2 separate regions of the Homo sapiens genome follow, and region 1 is linked to region 2. The links are contacts of gene promoters, found by promoter capture Hi-C in human tissues and cell types (Jung and others, 2019). All regions are on one chromosome and are shown on one strand. The core of a region is centred on a gene start or on the middle of the fragment in contact, and the rest is flanking DNA. Distances in the headings are between cores, read along the strand shown. Region 1 overlaps GPR149 (G protein-coupled receptor 149). Region 2 holds the start of GPR149 (G protein-coupled receptor 149).

Region 1 (4,986 bases), core at 567-3,066, 46 kb before region 2:
AATTTAATATACTCAAAATAAATGTTTCAACAAAATTGTTGGCACACTAGAAAATTTATTACATTCAGTGAATTAGTCATTCAAAAAATTGCTCCTTCAGGGAACTGATTTTTGATGACTTGGTCTGTTTTCAATGCGGACTGAAATTAGTGGGGCAGGATTAGGGTTGGGATGAGGGTGGTGGGATCTGGAAACAATACAGAATGGCTCTCGTTGAGAATGAAGTGAGGGCAGCCTAGGACATAGTGCCTGTGTCCATTGCTGGGGCCAGCCTGCAGGAAAAGGGGTGCTATAATAAGCCTAGATAAATGGAGGCATTGGGCTTGAGGCTACTTATTTATATCCTGCTAAAACTCAAATTGCTCTGAAAATAAATAGTGAGGCTGGATCTGTAGAAGATTAAATGAGTTGACCCAGCTGTGGGAGAACTGGGGCAGGCAGAAGCTGGGGAAACAGGAATGGGGGCGAGACATTCCACTGAGCAGGCCAAATTTATGCCATCTCAGACTTAACATATCATCTCTGCTTCTTTGAAATCATGGGCAGTTCCATTAAAGGAAATGATTCAAGTTAGGTTTGGCTGAGATTGGGGGCACCTGATTCTATAGATTTATTTCCTAGGAAGGAAGCAGTATTTCTATTTCTTACTTTGTGCGAGTCCTTCACAGTGAATATGGGGCACACTGCTTGCCATATCGAAGTAGTTAAAAAAAATGCCTGTTGACTTGATACAGTCATATGTGGACACTTGCAGACTCTTTTCAAGTCATTTATGGACACTTCCATGACAAAGTTCTGATTTATACTTTGTGTGGCAAATTTTTCAGTGTTTAGAGTTCATGGGCATATGCTTGGAAAACAGAGGTACTATAGTCATTCCTTGATATTTGAGGAGATGCTATGGTCTGGATGTTTGTGTCCCCCCAAAATTTGTATGTTGATCTTTAATCCCCCAAATTATGGTATTGGGGGACATTTTAAGAGATGATTAGGTCATGAGGGTAGAGCCCTCATGAGTAGGATTAGTGCCCTTGTAAAACAGCCCAAGGGAGCTTGTTTGCCCTTTCTCTACCATGCGACGACACAGTGAGAAGACGGTTGTCTCTGAACTAAAAAGCAGACCTTTACCAGACACCGACTTTGCCAGTGCCTTGATCTTGGACTTTCCAGCCTCCAGAACTGTGAGAAATAAGTTTTTGTTGTTTTTAAGCTATTCGGAGGAAATAAGCTATTTATAAGCTTATTTATGGTATTTTGTTATAACAGCCTGAGCCAACTAAGACAAGATGAGAGAAATTTACATACAAGATACTGCATTGAGACAATGTACTTTGCACTCAGAGTGCTGAAACTTAAAGGACATTTAGAAAACTGTGAAGATTAAAAAGCCCCAGGCGTTTACATAAAGCCTCGGGTGAGATCTTATTTTCAGTAAACTAAACTCACTTTCTCATAGCTTCTATATGTTCAGGCTCTTTAATTACATATAGCAATTAGGAACACCTCAAGCATAAAAAGAATTATTCAAGACCAAGGTTATTTGCCTCATCAGTAACTGCACCAATAATCAAGGTACATACCTCTACAGCTGTTCTAAACAACATCAGTGAGAAATACCAACTGAGACAATTATATAGTAACCATGGAAGCCTAAAAGTTGTGTTGATATGACTGGGATGGGGAAAACTCTAATACTCTGGAGACAGAAGCTTTTCAAAGTGGAACTTGGGGCTGTGCAATGTATGAAAGAATTACAAACTATAGCATTTTTAGGGCTGAAAAAGACCTGAGGCTATTTAGCTCCAATCTTCCTGTTTTTCTCAAATGCCTCATTTTTCAGATGAGAAAACACAGGCAAAGAGCCTGCTCACTGTTACACAATTAATCAGTCCCAGAGCCAGAGCTAGAGTCCAAAATCTACCCAGCAACAAGGAAGCCATCCAAAGTTCTGGGGTTTTTGTGCCCTTTTGTAGAATTACTCTGTGCCAGGTTAGAGCTAATTTAGGGCTTGTCATTGGAATTCTAACATCAGGATGACCACTGTTTTTGGCTATGGCACAACTATAGAATAGTTATCAATATTTCTCTTGGGCAGAAGAGGGCAAAATACGAATCATTGCTGCCTCCTCTTCATCTTCATTCCTGGCAAATTCTCCTATGGACTTTCTCCAAATGGATATATAAATAAAGCCTTTGATGAATATCTTTTGCGTGTGATAGTATGTGTGTCTGTGCTTCAGAAATACTATTTCTCAAAGGATATGAGTGTGTTTCCTAAAGGATAAAAGTGTGAGTGCATAGCTGAGCTTATGTGTTGAACTTGGATCTGTTTGTGCTTGGTGTTTAGATATTTTTAGCTAGAGATGACTAGATTTTCAGCTAATTTGCTAAAAAGAAATTTGTGCTATGTCTGCTGTAGGGCAGGATGATGGAATTGGAGATTATTTCACCTGGCTTTCATCCCCAATCCCTGCGAATTCTTTGGAGATGGAAAATTTAGAGCGGGCTTTCATATTTTTTGTACCGGTTGTGAACAATAAGAAGCTTGAAAATCAGAAGAGGCACTCTTACTACAGGAACAACACCCTTGGGTACAAATGTTTTGTAAAATTCCAATAAACCAATCATTGTCCTCTTTGTGAATTACTGCCTTGTCTTCTGGGGAGTGAGCAGGGCAAAAAGAGTTGAAAGTGAATACTGGAGTCTGACACTCTGGGTAGGATGTTGATTAGGCTTTTTACCAGCTGTGTGATTTTAAGGAAACTCTTTTTGGTTTGTTCGTTTTTATTATACAATCACATCTACACATGAACTTCACTCTTAGGAGCTGTATAAGGGACAGTCACACATCCAAAGATCTCCAATGCAATAACTTTCACAAATTTCTTTCTTTCTTTCTTTCTTTTTTTTTTTTTTTTATAAGGAGTCTTGCTCTGTCGCCCAGGCTGGAGTGCAGTGGCGCCATCTTGGCTCATTGCAAGCTCCACCTTCCGGGTTCACACCATTCGCCTGCCTCAGCCTCCCTAGTAGCTGGGACTACAGGTGCCTGCCACCACGCCCAGCTATTTTTTGTATTTTTAGTAGAGACGGGGGTTTCACCCTGTTAGCCAGGATGGTCTCGATCTTCTGACCTCGTGATCTGCCTGCCTTGGCCTCCCAAAGTGCTGGGATTACAGGCATGACACAAATTTCTATAACTCTCTGACTCTTCAGGTACAGGTAAGGGGAATGACTAATGGCTTGTGACAAATATTAGTTGAATGAATACATTATTAAATACATATTTAATGAATAAAAATATCTAATATTTGAAGGATATTTCATACTTTTATCTTGTTTTACCTTAATATCTGGTGAAGTGAGTGTTTTCATCCTCCTTTTTAGTTAAGGGAATTGAGAGTCAAAAAGAGGTCTAACAATAGTTGTGAATCAGGACTAGACAATACCAGTTTTGAAGTACCTGGTTCTGACTCCAAAGACCTGCAATTATAACTTACACAATTGCAAAGAGCTACACATCATTTCTAAAGACGCAAGAATGTCTGTCTACCTTTGTTTGCAACAGTACAGGCTCAGCCTGACGAATTCCCACCAGAGATTCATACCTGATGTCAAGGGCATACTCTGTTGAGAAACCTGGGTGGCACTGTCTCATAGTGTGACTCTGTTGTCATAAGAAAAGGCTGTTGGTACAGACATTTAAAAACAGAAGATCAGAGTTTCAAGGTTGAGCTTGTATTCATCTCCTTACTGCACAGGAAGCCCTTTGTAGTGCAAACCAATTCCTTCAAGCAACATGTGTCATCCCCTCAGGAGATATCACCTTCTACTCTTTGATTTCACCTAGAACCTGCCTTAGGGAGACTGTGTTCTATGGACAAGCTACTCCTGTAAAAGACATGCTGAAGAAAACAAAAGATTAAGGACAAAAAAGGAAGCAAAACCACTGCGATTGAATTCTCATATAGCTGATGTTAAGATTTGGATAGCTAAAAAATAATGTTATAATTTTTTCTTATAAAACAATTCCCAATAATAAGGTTAAATATATCTGAATAGAAGAGCCAATATTTTAAAAATTTTATAATAATGTATGTATTTCCCTCCTATTCAACTGGGATAAATTCAGCTTTTCTTTTTTGGAAGAAGGAGCTAAAGTATATTTTTCTCCTTTTTTTTTCCCTATTAAGGGAAATAGCCGAGAGAATCTCAGGATTATGCTACAACATATGTTAACATTTAAAACCATTAACTGAATATATATAAAACAATACCTATCATGACAATTTTTGAATATACATTTTATACTGAAAAGAAATGCGAAAAGTTCCTGGACATTTTATGCTTATGGGTGTTGAGCACACTCTCTTCCTCCCACCTTTTCTGCAGGGTGAACTATTATTCCTTTCAAGGCTCACAGTGAAAGCTGTAATGACTTCACTTCTCTTTTTGGCAAAATTACCCGTGCCTGTAACACTTTTGCACAAACTGTAGAACTCAATTTTCTTGAGGTACTGTCATTATCTGTGCCCTCCTGTTCCTTCTGATCTCTGAGTTACTTGAGAACAAGGGCTTGGTCTTATTTGGCACTGAATGTTTCAGACCCAGCCTTGGGCTCAATGAATGTTTGTTGAGTGAATAATATAGGCCATGTCAGAAGCATACTCATATTCTTCTCACGGTGTCTGAGGTTGAAATGCAGTGAGCCTGACATAAGCTCAAACCTGTCTGGAGCCAAGTATAGGTCAGATCCCATGTCTCCTTCAATTTTGGTAGAGTATGAGTCAGTGAGCCTAAATTATTTCCCCAGTTCAATCATCTACTATCTCTGGTTGTCTTAATTAAGCTTCAAAAATCTGTGCCTTCTTCCATCTCATGGGAATGGTGAAAAATAAATGAGATCACATCTAAAGAACCAGGGTTTCTTATTAGAGAGTACATTATTATCATTATATCAAGCAAGCTCCGGGCACTCTCCAGAGTGCT
Region 2 (5,410 bases), core at 2,411-4,910:
AGCATACACTAATGCATTCTCAGATTAATTAAGTGATAGAACATCCTATATTTTGTCTAGAATAATACAATAATCTCCTTTTTCTTCCTGGCAGAGTCAAAATATACAGCTCATTCCTCAACACTTTTCTTGTCTTAGCATATGGGAACAATTACACTGTAGGGAGTTCTGGAAGGGACCCTGCTTTCCACTCTCATTCTAGGTGTACTCTTCAGACCACAGAATCTTCTTTAAGTAAATAACTTGGCTAGATCCATACATGAACACACAGTAACAAACTGTCACTTGTGTCTTTTTTTTTTAAACTGAGGGTTTTGTTTGTTTTTATGTTTGGACCAGGGCGTGTGTGTGTGTGTGTGTGTGTGTGTGTGTGTGTGTGTGTGTGAGACAGAGAGAGGCCTACACTTACAATTTGTTTTGGAACTGTTTTCAAGCACTCTGATTCCTTACTCTGAAAACTTTCCAAAACCCTGGAAGAATACTAGCAGTAAAACAACAAAAATGCCTTTCTTTACTGTTCCATTGCATAATAATGTTATAATGTAATGAGTTTTCAACTCCTTTCAGAGGGTTAATAATCCTTTTTCAAATGCAAGCTTCTTATAGCAATGCTGCATCTCATTCTAGACTTGGGAGGGGAATATATTTTCTATTCTGGACTAAGAACTATGGTGAATGTATCATCTAAGTGCCTTTGTTGACATGGTGTGCTGAATGAATCCTAGTCTTCCCTTTTTTTTTTCTACCTAAAATAATTATTCAGTACCACAGGCACTTCATGGGGTTTTTCAAAACCAGCTGAATTTAAAATCTACCCCCAAACTGTTGTAGTGATTGTTTCATGTTATAATTTCTTCTCACTATTTACCACTGACATTTATCCTTGGACTCTCCATCCCCTACTGAGGCAACTTTGTTAATAGACCACTTTTCTGAAAGTCACCTAATGCATATTGCTGCCAATCACTGCAGTGTTGAGGACTTACTTTTTTTCCCATCGGACGCCACTGCATATGCGTTCTGCCTGCAGTTGATGATGCAGCCACAGGGCAAGTGGGTCCAGCGTTTGGACAAGACAAACACTGGGGTTACAGTGGTGGCCAGCAGGGTAAGTAGAAAGCTGAATGTCTCCAAGGGAAGGCTCTGAAACCCCACGACGTTCTGGACCACCATGTGCATCTGCAAGGGCAAGAGAACTTCAGACCTAACCTAAAATTATACTTTGTACTTCTCAAGCCTTTTCTCCACGCACGCTGCCTCAGTTCCCTTTCCAGTTCCTTCTCCTGATGGACAGCGGGGACCTCTGCTACGGAGCTGGCTCCCTGTCCTTGGTGATGGGCTCCTGGGAACGGCGGGGCACACCCCCAGGGTTGGGAGGGGTTTCAGCTTTTGAGTGCCGGATCTGCGCCCGCTGCCTATTCAAGACTCCACCAGAAAGGCACAGTCTACAACGTGGGGGACGCTAGCTAGGAAACAGGCGTCCGTGAAACCCGCATCTGATTCTCCGAATGGCCTTTGTCGCCTCCCTGGACCCTCACCTCCGCCCATGCGCGCTCGTCACAGTGGGGCGCCACTCTGCCACCTCTTAATCGGCTTCCTCCTGGAAGGAGGAACAAAAGCCTGTTTTGTTCCCTGTCTTCTCCCTCCACAACTGATCTCTCCTCCCCTCTATCCCGCCCTGCTGGAGATGGGCGTCGTCCTCTCTAGGCGGGAATGGAACGGCGAGAAAGGGATGACAGAAGGTTGTGGGGAAAAAACCTTTTAATTCCCTCTTTCCTTTTCTGAATACTCTCTGATTTTGCTGTGTGAGACAATATCCTTGGCCACCACCGATATGGAAAACTAAGTCGCTCGCGACGGAAAGCGATCCCCATGCCCCTGACTTTTGAAAGGAGAAGCATTTAGTAGTAAAGGTTTCGCAGCCAACTAGCCCTGTCCCGAACTGCCTTCTTCTAAGTGCATGTCTAAAACCCAGCGAGATACACTTGGAAGCGGACTTCACTGTGTGTCTCTTGGTGACTCCCCAAACCGGCGACGCCGGTCCCAACACTCATTTACACTGTCTGGCACACACACTCGCGCTTTGTGAGCAACTGCACTTTTACCATCATGGGCAGCCAAAGGACGACTTTTGTAAGCGCTAGGATCAAAGCGAAGCGCTTCTGCGCTACGCTCACGGTGAAGCTCCTGGTGCCATAGAGAGTCCCCCGGTTCTCACGCCTGCAGGCTTCAGCCCCAGCGGCAGCGGGCGCACCCGGTCCGAACACGGTGTCGGAGCTCGGAGAGCATCCCCCAGAGCGCCGCAGACTCGGGCCTGGAGCATCCTCTGGGGACAGGGAAACCACTCTCCCCGCAGTAGGAGGGGTCCCAGGAATTGAAGCTCCACGGGAAATTTCCTGGTAGTTGGAGTGGAGTCTCGGCGGCTCCTCCGAACACAGCAATCGGTGAGTGAGTGGGACTGAGAGGCCCACGAGGAGTCCGAAGGCCAAAGCGTACACGATAGAGAGGAATAGTACGTAGGAGCTGGAGCAGTCCACCAGGCAGCCCCAGGGCGTGCGCACGAAGGCGCCCCAGCCGCACAGCGGGAGCGCCGAGAGCAGCAGACTGGCTGCCCACACGGTCAGCACCACGCCGAGCACCTGGCCCGATCTTCTGGAGGCTGTCTGGCTCCCCACACCTCTGTGCATCGTATAAAAGTTGTAAGAGACTAGGAGAGTCGCCTTCAAGTTGCTAGAGAGGCCCTGGCATAAATACATTAAGGCAGAGGTGGTGCACAGAAATTGGAAGTAACCGGGGACCTCGTTTGGCCACTGCAAAAACATGAAGATGGTCACCGACAGGACGCTCATGAGATCATCCACAGACCAGGAAGCCACAAGCATGGACACAACAGTTCTGTTCTGCATTTTCAGCAGGGAAATTAGTGAATAAATGCTGCCCACCAAGGCTGCAAAAGTCATGAGACATGTCAAGCAAAAAAGATAGATATTCAGGGTTCCTGGCGGATTTAAAAGGTCCGTAGAATTATGATTCTCTTTCCACAGGCTAGAGTCATTTGTTGATAAGTTACTGAGAAATAAAGACATTGTCCTTGGTCAATATTTAATTTCCCTTATCAATGAGTCTGATAATTTTCTCAAAAGAAAGACCGGCTGCTGCAAATCAGATTTCATTCCTCCTACCAAGTTCCCCTCTAGATGTTCTCCTTGTCAGTCCTGCAGAAAATGGTCAGCCATGTCTCCTTTAGATCTGACTCAAGCTATATTTAAAAATTAGGTTCCATTTCAAGCATAAAAAAAAAAAAACCCGAACAGATAACTTTTCAACATTCCAATTAAAAACAAAGCAAAAACTCCTTCCCACCATCAAGTTTCAGGGAAGAAAGCCAAAAAAATAAACAAAACAAAACTCTTCAGGTACATTAAAAACCAATGATGTCTGGATCCTTTGGGGTCCTTCTTATGGAGCAAAGCAGCTTGTAGCTTGAGATAATCAAACTCTGTTCACTTTTAAGAGCAGTAAAATGATGCATTTGGTTCCAGAGCTGGATTCAAAGGCAGGAGATTGTCAGGTAGGTTTCAGCTTTGAAGGTGGAGAGAGAGAGAGAGACAGAGAGAGAGAGAGAGAGGGCGAGCGCGAGCCAGTCAGAGGGAGCTTGTGCACAGAATCCCATCTGAACCGCTGTGTTCTTCAATCAGCCTGTGATCCTCGGAGCTGCAGGAAGGAGGAGTCAGCTCCAAGCAGGAGAGAAGCAGGAAAAAAAGGGAGGGGAGTTCAGTGTGTGAACAAAATGATATACGTATATCTTAGACTGACTCTTTCAAAGCAAGAAACGGTGTACTTGCTAAGCTTCCCCTTTGGTTTCAACATGTAAAATTAGTCCAAATACTTGCTCAGGCTTGATGTGAACTACAAATATAACCTGTGAGAGGTCTAAGCTACTCCAGTAACTAAGGGACTGCTTTTATTCTTACCTAGACTTTCTGCTTCATAATCCATTGGAGGAAGAATATCATCAATCCCATGCATAAGAGTCAGATGTATCAGATTTCTTTTAAAAAAATAGTGTACTTAAGATTGTCGTTATAGTCCTCATTACTCTAAACGGGATTATACAGAATCTTTGGATAGAGTCACACTAGCTTTAGACATTTATTTATAACTATTTTCTGTCAATGGTATCAAGTAAGCAGGCTGTCATTCGAATAAATTATATGTCTAAGTATCCATAAAGTCGGAAGATATTACATAGGGCCTAAAAGGAAGATCACCCTACATTTTTAACCAGAGTATTTGGGACATACAATAGTTGTATCTCTTAATGGTCAATTTTGCAAGATGCGTGATTTAGCAAAGAAGTATCTAACAGAAGTACTTCTGGTCCAGCATTTCCCAGGATGCTTTAGGGCAGCATTCTTCTCAGCTTAGCCTCATGACCAGATGGCTGCATTCTCCCACATAGTGCTGGAGGTTTAAATGGAAACAGGGGAAGGGAAAGGAAATAGTTGATATTGATAATGATTTAATAACTGGAAGTAGTAATAGAACTGCGATCATTCTTTTCATTTTAGAAATAACTGAAGTATCATTTTGAACCCGAATCTGTTCAAGTAGAAAATGGTTGCATTAGTCATTACCAGCCACACCCTTCAATAAACACAGCAGGTATTTCACTTATCTTGATATGTTGATTGTTTGATTTTCCCCCTTACTCAGCAAATGGAAACAAAAAACACATGTAACAGCTAGCTCAGCACTCTAGCTCTCCCTACTGATAGTATAGACTGTGTAGGGCTGTGTGAGTAGGAAAGGTTGAGGGTATATTCATTTTAAAATAATGTTGATTCAGAAAGTATGATGAAAAACAAATCTTATTTTTGAAGACTTCAAAGTTCCATGACATGCCATTCTGTCTCTTCTCACAAACCTTATTCTTCCTTGCCATAGCAAAAATATTATTCTTCAATATCGTATTGAATCCTGCATTTTCAGTTAGGTTGGACAATAAGTCTCAGATTGTTAATATACAATGAATAGAAATTAATAATAGCTACTGTAGTACCATTTCAGGTCTGAGAACATTTCCCCTATTATTATCATCATTTCTGGGTTTTCCATTAAATATAAATTTGGAAAAGGGATACTTAATCACCATGTTGTACTGTTCTTTGGGCTATTACAGAAGAAACAAGAATGTTTAGCACATTTCCAAGGGTTGGTAGCAGAACTGCAGCCAGGAGAGAGCTAGTAGAGATATCTGAATTTAACTTTAGACTCTGCTATTGCAGGATAGGTAACCTAGGACAACAATTCTTGTACTTTCTCTGGCTGTCTGTTTCTGCATCTGTAAAATAAAGAGGCATCTTAGTCTATTTTGTGTTGCCAAAACAGAATACCACAGACTATGAAA

What was found. The method cuts DNA at HindIII sites, captures the fragments that hold promoters and counts their contacts. A contact is called where the count stands out against the background at its distance.
Region 1: a contact is called between a fragment that was not itself captured here and the fragment with the promoter of GPR149 in region 2, in 1 of the 25 tissues and cell types used here (stomach).

Annotation. Positions count from the first base shown.
Region 1 is chr3:154,382,803-154,387,788 of GRCh38, forward strand. All of the region lies in intron 3 of GPR149 (G protein-coupled receptor 149), which reads right to left. Among named protein-coding and RNA genes, the nearest start is that of GPR149, 45 kb to the right of the region's middle. RefSeq lists an enhancer at 1,014-1,183. The HindIII fragment of the contact is 3,757 bases long and covers 1-3,695 here.
Region 2 is chr3:154,426,530-154,431,939 of GRCh38, forward strand. It overlaps GPR149 (G protein-coupled receptor 149), which reads right to left and starts at 3,661. Exons shown (of 4, transcript NM_001038705.3): 1 at 2,106-3,661; 2 at 987-1,179. The coding sequence starts at 3,086. The HindIII fragment of the contact is 11,418 bases long and covers 1-5,410 here.